Linked DNA regions of Homo sapiens: region 1 is linked to region 2. The links are contacts of gene promoters, found by promoter capture Hi-C in human tissues and cell types (Jung and others, 2019). All regions are on one chromosome and are shown on one strand. Each heading gives the region's core, a stretch centred on a gene start or on the middle of the fragment in contact. The rest is flanking DNA. Distances are from core to core; before and after follow the strand shown. Region 1 overlaps KCNB2 (potassium voltage-gated channel subfamily B member 2). Region 2 holds the start of KCNB2 (potassium voltage-gated channel subfamily B member 2).

Region 1 (3,833 bases), core at 980-3,479, 380 kb after region 2:
TGCACTCCTGGCACCCAAGTTCTTATCTGGCATCCAGGAGGAATGAGGTCACATGAATGAATTGAATGAAGATGGTAAATGTGGGAGATTTTATTGTTAATGAAAGTGGCTCTCAGCAGGAAGGGGAGCTAAAAAGGGGACAGAGCAGGAAGGTATTCTTCCCATGAAGTTTGGCCATCCCCAGCCACACTTCTCTCTAAAGCTACATCATCAAGTTGTCCCTCTGAAGTCAAGCTGCTTCTCTCCAGTGTCCAACCTTAGTCTCCAATGTCCAGCTGCTTCTCCTCTCTCTGTCAGCTGAGCCTGGCATTTTTATGGGCACACGATGGGAGATGGGGCAGACCATGGGTGGTTTGAGAAAAGGCAACATTCGAGCTGGAAAACAGGGATGGAATTTATCATTTTGGGCCACAGTATCAGGCTTTTGGGCTTGAGGGTCCCTCACTGCAGACCCACCCTCTTCCACCCAGAATTTCCTTGCCTTCTGTCCCTATCAGTTTCTAGACATAAACAACAGTAAATCATTAATCTGAGAAGGAAATCATTTCCTTGTGAGGCTTTTTCGATGAGTACTAAAGTTGAGAAATGATTTAAAGAGTGAATAAATCAAAGTGAAATAAACTCATGTACAGCAAAGAGAAACAAGGATCAAAAGGTTGAATTTAGCACCAAATAAACTTCCAGTGGAATGAGAAAGTAAATACTATAATCAGTTGACTAAAAGTAATCATTAATATGTGAGATATCACCCTTATTATAATGTTCAGATGTTTTAAAAAGGCAAAGGAGACAATATGAATAATAGAGAATTTATGCTGTTATTAAATGAACATATGGTTATTTTATTGAAAATTAGAAAAAAATCCAGAGTTAAAAGCCTGAGACCTAGTCAGTAAATCAACTCCATTTAAAATACTCTTAATTGGCAATTGTATGTGACATGACATAGTATTTTGGTTTCAGTTCAAACAATTTGTATTCTGTCAATGGTGTTGAAATTGGGAAAGGAAAAAGATGGTTATATATAATTTAAGTGGTAAATTTTTAAAAGAATGGTGGTCCCTTATACCAAAATATATTTTCCAGTAATATCAGCTTTACAACTAGGTATAATAGGTGAATGTTTTTGCGGTATAATTTAAAAGCCCCCACTAATCAAAAATATCTCCATTGCCTGAAATTCTACTGATGAAGATGGAATTCTACTGATGGGTCAAGATATAATCTGACTCTCATAGTGATATCAGGTTGGTAGAACAGGAGGTGAAGGCAATGGTTGCTTGGGCAGATATTTTGACAGGGAAGAGAAAGGACCCAAAGAGGTGTGAAAGGTGTAGAGAGAAGGGGAAGCAGGCTGAAGGGTATCCAAGGTAAATAAAACTTGCCCCACAGTGTTTCCCAGGCTGATCAGGAATGCCAATATGCAAACAGGCAATTATATTCTTATTTTCAACCTACCTAGTCATGATTTTACAGAGAGAAAATTAGTTCCTTTCAGCCTATTTCTACTGTGAATTTTGGTGTTCTTTATTTATCTGCCAAATCTGTGGTACCTGACAATCTCCCAACCATATCATTAGGATGAGAACTTTAAAGCAAAAAGATCAAGCAGCATAAAAGTTGTGTCTTCTGTAGCAGTGCTAAGTCATCATCTGTCTGTGCTTTGTTCTCTTGTCTACTTAGACTTTCAGAAGCAAACACTATTTAAGCAATGAGAGAATGGGGTTGTGGGAATGACACTGGGCATATTTTTTATTATTATTATGTTAACTCCTTTATTTATGTAGAAAGCTTAGAATTTGTTTTGCTAAGCTTAATGTCTTAGAAAATAAGATAAAGAAAGCCTAAGGGCCACAGATAGTATTTGTTGGATTGCATTTGCATAAATAAAAATTTGATGAAAATAACACATATTCAATAGGCATTTAAGATAAGTACTCAGATCTGGGAAAATTCCTAAAATTCCCCTTTTTGAGGAATTCTAAACTAATTTATAAATAATGTGGCAAAATGAATTTTGTATATTTTATTATGTTTATATAAATGATTCAAAAGCATAAAATATTACTCCAATAGTAGGAGAAAATCAATGATTCAGTCTCTCCTGGTGCACAAAGCTTTCAGCCTCCTAGAGGCCATTTAATGTGGTGCAGCTGGCCAGTGGCAGCCAGGGCTCATTGGGTTGCAGTTTTATGTGCTATTGTAATATAATGTGTTTAGTCATGCCCTCTGCCTGTTTTAGGAGGTCAAATTTTAGATTCCCGGCATATACAAAACTAGTCTGGCATTTAGAAAACCTAGAAGTCTAAAAGACAACACTGTGCTCAGTGACCAACTCTGCAAACAACAGCTGTGGCCACAAATAAAATACCATCTATCTGTAAGTAAATAGAATGGAAAGGGCTTTTGGGCACCCACAGGTCTTTTTCACCATATCTTCAAGCACAGCTAGCAATATTTATCAGTATTATCATCTCCAAAGGAGATATACATCTGTTTATATATGTAAATGCATGTATTTATATGCATGCGTATGTTACACCATAGCATTAAGGTGTTTCTATGAGAATTTTTCACTTCTTTACATATTTAAGCATCTTCAGCACTATACGGAGGAACAGCTCCACCTGGTTCGTGGCCGAAGTGGAGTTCCCATAGCCCTGCCCACTAAGTCTTCTCCTTCTCTCAGCAGTGGCCCCCACAAGGCACATCTAAAGAGCCCCTAGGCTCCTGAAAACCACAGAAGGAAGTGATTCTCACTATGGAGATTAAGAAAGACTTTTGGGAGGGTGGGGGTAATGGGTAGTTTTTAAACTGGGACTGATTCAAAATAGTTGTGTACCACACAGAAGATAGGCTTCTGAACAACCACTGTTTTTTCCATCATCAGAAGAGAAGATTTGTGTGGTAGCCTTCAGACATGACCTGCCACCTCCCCTTTGCAGCTGATGAATATTTGACAGGCTACAGGAAATAAGGCATGGCCACAGGCTATGATGGAGTGACCATATGTAGGTCTATCACTGACAAACTGATTGCATTCGACCAAGTGAGGATCCCTAGCTTGAAATTACAGAAATATTTTAAACTTCTACATAGGAAGTAAGAAATTTAAACATGAAAATGTTTAGGCTATATGTGAAAATTATCTGGACATTTGTCATAATATGCTCGGTGTATTTTTATCTGTAGACTAAATATCAATGGTGGTTAAATTTTGCTTTGATAATCAGATATTATTGCAGACATATGTCTTCATCTATGAAGACTATTTGTTGAATATATGCAGTAATGTTAGCCACTATTTAAAAGCACTTACGAGGTACTAGATATATTTAAGCTCTAATCTCAATGCTATCACCTCTATTACCTGAAGAGTAGATGCCTCGTAGCCAGATGAGCAATAGAATTGAGATTTGAATCCAAAATGTGACCTATAAGCTAATATTATAGTTTAAAACTATTGAGTCAATTATTTTAAAATTAATTACTTAAGTTATATATAACTTAAGTCATGTAAGATCACTAGATCTCAAGTCATGTAAGCTCAATAAACATTTACTTAATCAAAAATTGGGTCTTTTTTCTTATTTTGAGACAAATCATATAATGAAAAAAACCCACATATTTAGAAACCAATATCAATCAATAGTCTATCAATAATGTTAACTTTGCTTAAATATTGAAGGATTTCATCAGAAGTTTAAAATAATGTCCTGGCCAGGCACAGTGGCTCGTGCCTATAATCCCAGCACTTTGGGAGGTCAAGGCAGGCAAATCACTTGACCAGCCTGGGCAACATGGCAAAACCCCCTCTCCACTATATCTATCTA
Region 2 (4,051 bases), core at 513-3,012:
TAAGGCCACCTCCCCATAGCGAGGTGGGAAGTCAAGGTGCAGAGAATTAGAGAGGATAGCGCATTCCAGGGCATATCAGGGCTAAAACTAAGGCAAGGATGACATGGAGTATATTTAAAACAGTGTACTTGGTTCCAACAATGATAGACTGGATTAAGAAAATGTGGCACATATACACCATGGAATACTATGCAGCCATAAAAAATGATGAGTTCATGTCCTTTGTAGGGATATGGATGAAACTGGAAATCATCATTCTCAGCAAACTATCGCAAGGACAGAAAACCAAACACCGCATGTTCTCACTCCTAGGTGGGAATTGAACAATGAGAACACATGGACACAGGAAGGGGAATATCACACACCGGGGACTGTTGTGGGGTGGGGGGAGGGGGGAGGGATAGCATTAGGAGATATACCTAATGCTAAATGACGAGTTAATGGGTGCAGCACACCAACATGGCACATGTATACATATGTAACAAACCCACATGTACCCTAAAACTTAAAAGTATAATAATAATAAAATTTAAAAAAACACTCAATAAACAGAAGATACAAGGAAAAAATAAATAAATAAATAAATAAATAAATATAAATAAAACAGTGTACTTGGAACTTCCTCAACAGCCATCCTTCTTGGTCTATAGAAACTCAGGAGTCCCAGCTTTAAATAGACTTGTCACGGCCTGCGTTCGTTTCTAAAAGGTGTTTTAAGCTACTTTGTTTTCCTGAAAGCCCCTGTAACCGTGCCAGCTGTCTCTATTTCGTGCCTGTGAAGGAGCACTGGGGTCAGAAATATGTAAGGCTCAGTGTTATTATTCAAGTTCATTGTCTTTACCGAGCCCTGGAAGTGGGTACAGGTCTAAGTGTTCACCCTGCGGCCTCGCCAAGGGGTAACTTGGCATAGTTTTCCAGCTGGTAAGTTGATAGGCAAAGGAAAGAAAGAAGGGTATGAAGAGCGCCCCCGTGAGAAGCAAGGGTTAAGGTTGCCACGGACCCGGCTTTACCCTCAAACCCAGGAAAGCCGGGTCACTTGGGGCTAGGGACGGCCCCCGAGCGAGCGGGGCTGCAGGTGCCGCGAGGAAAGTCAGATCTTATCTGCGCTCCTAGTTATCTCCGCAGCTCTTTCTCCAGGAAAATAATCCTGGCACCACCACTCAGGAGCCATCTGTCTTCGCCCCAGTTCCCCGGGGTCGAGCAGTCAGCCCAGGGTCAGGGTCCTGCTGTGGGCGGGCGGGAGGACAGCCCTGCAGTTGGAAGCAGAAGGGCCGAGGGAATCCCGCGAAGCCGCCGGAGCGCGTCGCGGCGGGGCCTCCCGGGGCTTTCCCGGCCCCGGGTGCGCGGCAGCCGCGGGGGCTGCGTCCCTCTAGTCCAGTGCAGCCGGGTGGGAGCTGCAGAGCGAAGCAGGTGGGTGTGGAGCCAGGCCCGGGGCAGCAGGAGTGGCTGGCGCGCGGAAGCTGAGGGAGGCACCCCGCCGAGGTGTGGGCGGTGCCTGCCCGCGCCCCAGCCGCGCCCTGGGCACCAGAGCGCTGTCCCCGGCCGAGCGCACAGCTCCGGCGCCGCGAGGCAGAGCCCCGGCGTCCCCGGCGGTGCGCTGCCGGCTCGCGCAGCCCAGCCATCCCGCCCCGCCGCCCACCTTGACAGCCGGGAGCGCTGAGGAGGAAGAGGGGGAGGGGGAGGAGGAAGAGAAGGCGGCGGCCGCTCCAGCCCGCGGGTGCGCGGAGCGCGGGAGGAGGCGGAGCGGGAGGCTGGGGTGGCCGCAGCCCTGTGTGCGCGCCGGGCCGGCTAGCTGCGGGGCGGGGGAGCGGCGCCCCAGAGCGCCCCGCCTAGCCTCCCGCGCGCAGCCTCTACCCTGCTCCGCCACAGACACACACCCACCAAGCACCCACCGCCCTCCGCCCTCCGCCCTCCGCCCCCGCGGCCGCCGCCGCCGCTGCGCCTCGGGCAGCCCCAGCGAGCGGCAACTCCCGGGCTGGCGCGGCTCGCTTTCTGGCTCCTTCCGCGCGGCGAGCTCAGCCCCGCTCGATTTTTCCTCTTCTGTTCCAGCCCTCTCTTGTCTGGGTGGCTGTGGCGGCGGCAGGGGGATGGGGACCCCGTGTGGGGAAGGGGTTGAAGATCGATGAAGATTATTGTTCTTTTAAAGGATGCCTTAGCTTCCTCCCGCCGCCTTTCCTCTGAGCCTTCCTACTAGAGACCGTGAACCAGAGTCAGGGATGTAAAGACAGGGGGAAAGCACGCCGGGAGCTCCAGCCAGCCGGGGAGACCCTCCTCTCTGTGGAGGGGAGGGGGATTTCCAGCGACAGGTCATTGGCGAAGGGGATCGTCGCGGGGAGAGGCTCCCCGGAGGGAGCGGGGAATCCCACAGCCCTTTGTGGTGCCCGAGCCCGTGCCGCCTGCTGAGCGGGGTCTGTGGGAGCTAGGTAAGTGGCGGGGGCATTGCTGCTCCCCGAAGGGGGTCTTCCTTTAAGAATGAATCATCGCGGCAGCCTAGCCAGACTTGAGTTGCTAAAGGAATTGGAAACTGCCATATGGCGCCCAGTGGACTTACACACAAAGCTGACTTAGCCCTGAGAGGGTTTTTAATGTCAGGCTCCTTCCCGGTGGGGAAGGCGCTCAAGTATTAGCCCCTGAAAAGCTTCCCAGCAGCCTGACTGGGAAGGGATGGGGATGTTATTTCTAGGAGCCGAGCTCTTGTTGCCTTCCGTCCATTTGTTGGTAAATGCCACACTCACATGCACACACTTGTGGGACTGGATTTAGGGAGTGTGATGTCTCTGATGTATGAACGATCCTCAGAACACAGAGACATGCGTGCATTTTATTCTTCAAGCGGTGCGCGGTCTCCGTTCTGTAGCACGATTCCTGAGAGGGAGAACGGGTCTCTAAGGAAAGAGCTTCATGGCTGTTTCCAACACACTCTGCTAGGGGACTTGGGAATACGTTTGCCCTGAATAGCACCAAAAGACATCGACCATTTGCCTCATCATTTGCTCCCGATGCTTAATGATCCTCTTCAAAATAGTATGCCGCCATCCATTTTCTCGAGTTGTGAGCATTTATGCGTATTCATTCATAAAAACTGTCAGTGTGCAATATGCACAAACATGCCATTTATGCAACATTTATGACTGCACATGTGTTTCAACAATAAGTAATAATGCATACAAGATTACATTGAAAAAAATTTAGTATGCACATACACTGGGTTAATTCCGCGCAGGTTCAACATTCCTTCTAATCAAGTTGTGTAGTAATGTCAAGATTTTAAGTATCGTATCACATTTTCATTTTTGCATTGATTAATTTTTTTATTTTGTTGGGAATCTGATTTTTTGAAACTGAGGGAAAGGAAGAGTAAGCATTTTATTGTTATTGTTAAATGTGTAGTATAGTGTGGGTCGGAAGTCTCTTGGTTTATTTACCAATAAACAGCAATCAATATATTACATTTCATAGGACAAGCGAGAGATAGATTTCGGTCAAAAATCTTGTCTTACCTGTCAGTGCTGAATAACTTACAGGAAAGATTTTGTAAAAGAGGGTAACATTCTAAAGTTACATATCAAGAAAATAAAGTTTTGTTTTATCTATTTCACTCTTTAGGGGCATGTGTGTGTGTGTGTCAATAAATATAAAGTTGTCCAAAGCTTAACGTAATACATGAATAAAACCCATCTAGACTAGACATCTAGGCTAGAGAGTTCTTTGTTCTTAAATTAACTCAAACAGTTTAGTAATTTGGCACATTACACATGTGTATGCGCATTTAATTGCCGTTTGAGGTGGTGTTTTTAATTTAAGGGCATGGATAAAGTGCTTACTTGTGTGATTGCATGGACTCTGAAAATACTGAAGGTCCAACGTAGAAATAACTTTCTTCCCCACTGAAGGAAAAGTATCCTTATCACCTAGAAGAGTTAATATGCTTCCACAAAGTAAATACCATAATCCCCTCCCTCTTGCCTTAAGGTTTAGAACAATTGTTTATCACAAATAGAATTCTGTATAATGTACCCTTCTTCCTTTTCTGGCACTACTCAGACTTTTG

The links. Contacts are between HindIII fragments. The study calls those that stand out against the background at their distance.
Region 1: a fragment that was not itself captured here is called in contact with the fragment with the promoter of KCNB2 in region 2 in 1 of the 25 tissues and cell types used here (dorsolateral prefrontal cortex).

What each region holds. Positions count from the first base shown.
Region 1 is chr8:72,916,619-72,920,451 of GRCh38, forward strand. All of the region lies in intron 2 of KCNB2 (potassium voltage-gated channel subfamily B member 2), which reads left to right. Among named protein-coding and RNA genes, the nearest start is that of KCNB2-AS1, 37 kb to the left of the region's middle. The HindIII fragment of the contact is 3,873 bases long and covers 294-3,833 here.
Region 2 is chr8:72,535,463-72,539,513 of GRCh38, forward strand. KCNB2 (potassium voltage-gated channel subfamily B member 2) reads left to right here and starts at 1,763. Exons shown (of 3, transcript NM_004770.3): 1 at 1,763-2,423. RefSeq lists silencers at 1,353-1,482, 1,493-1,542, 1,553-1,612, 1,773-1,822. The HindIII fragment of the contact is 6,044 bases long and covers 1-3,144 here.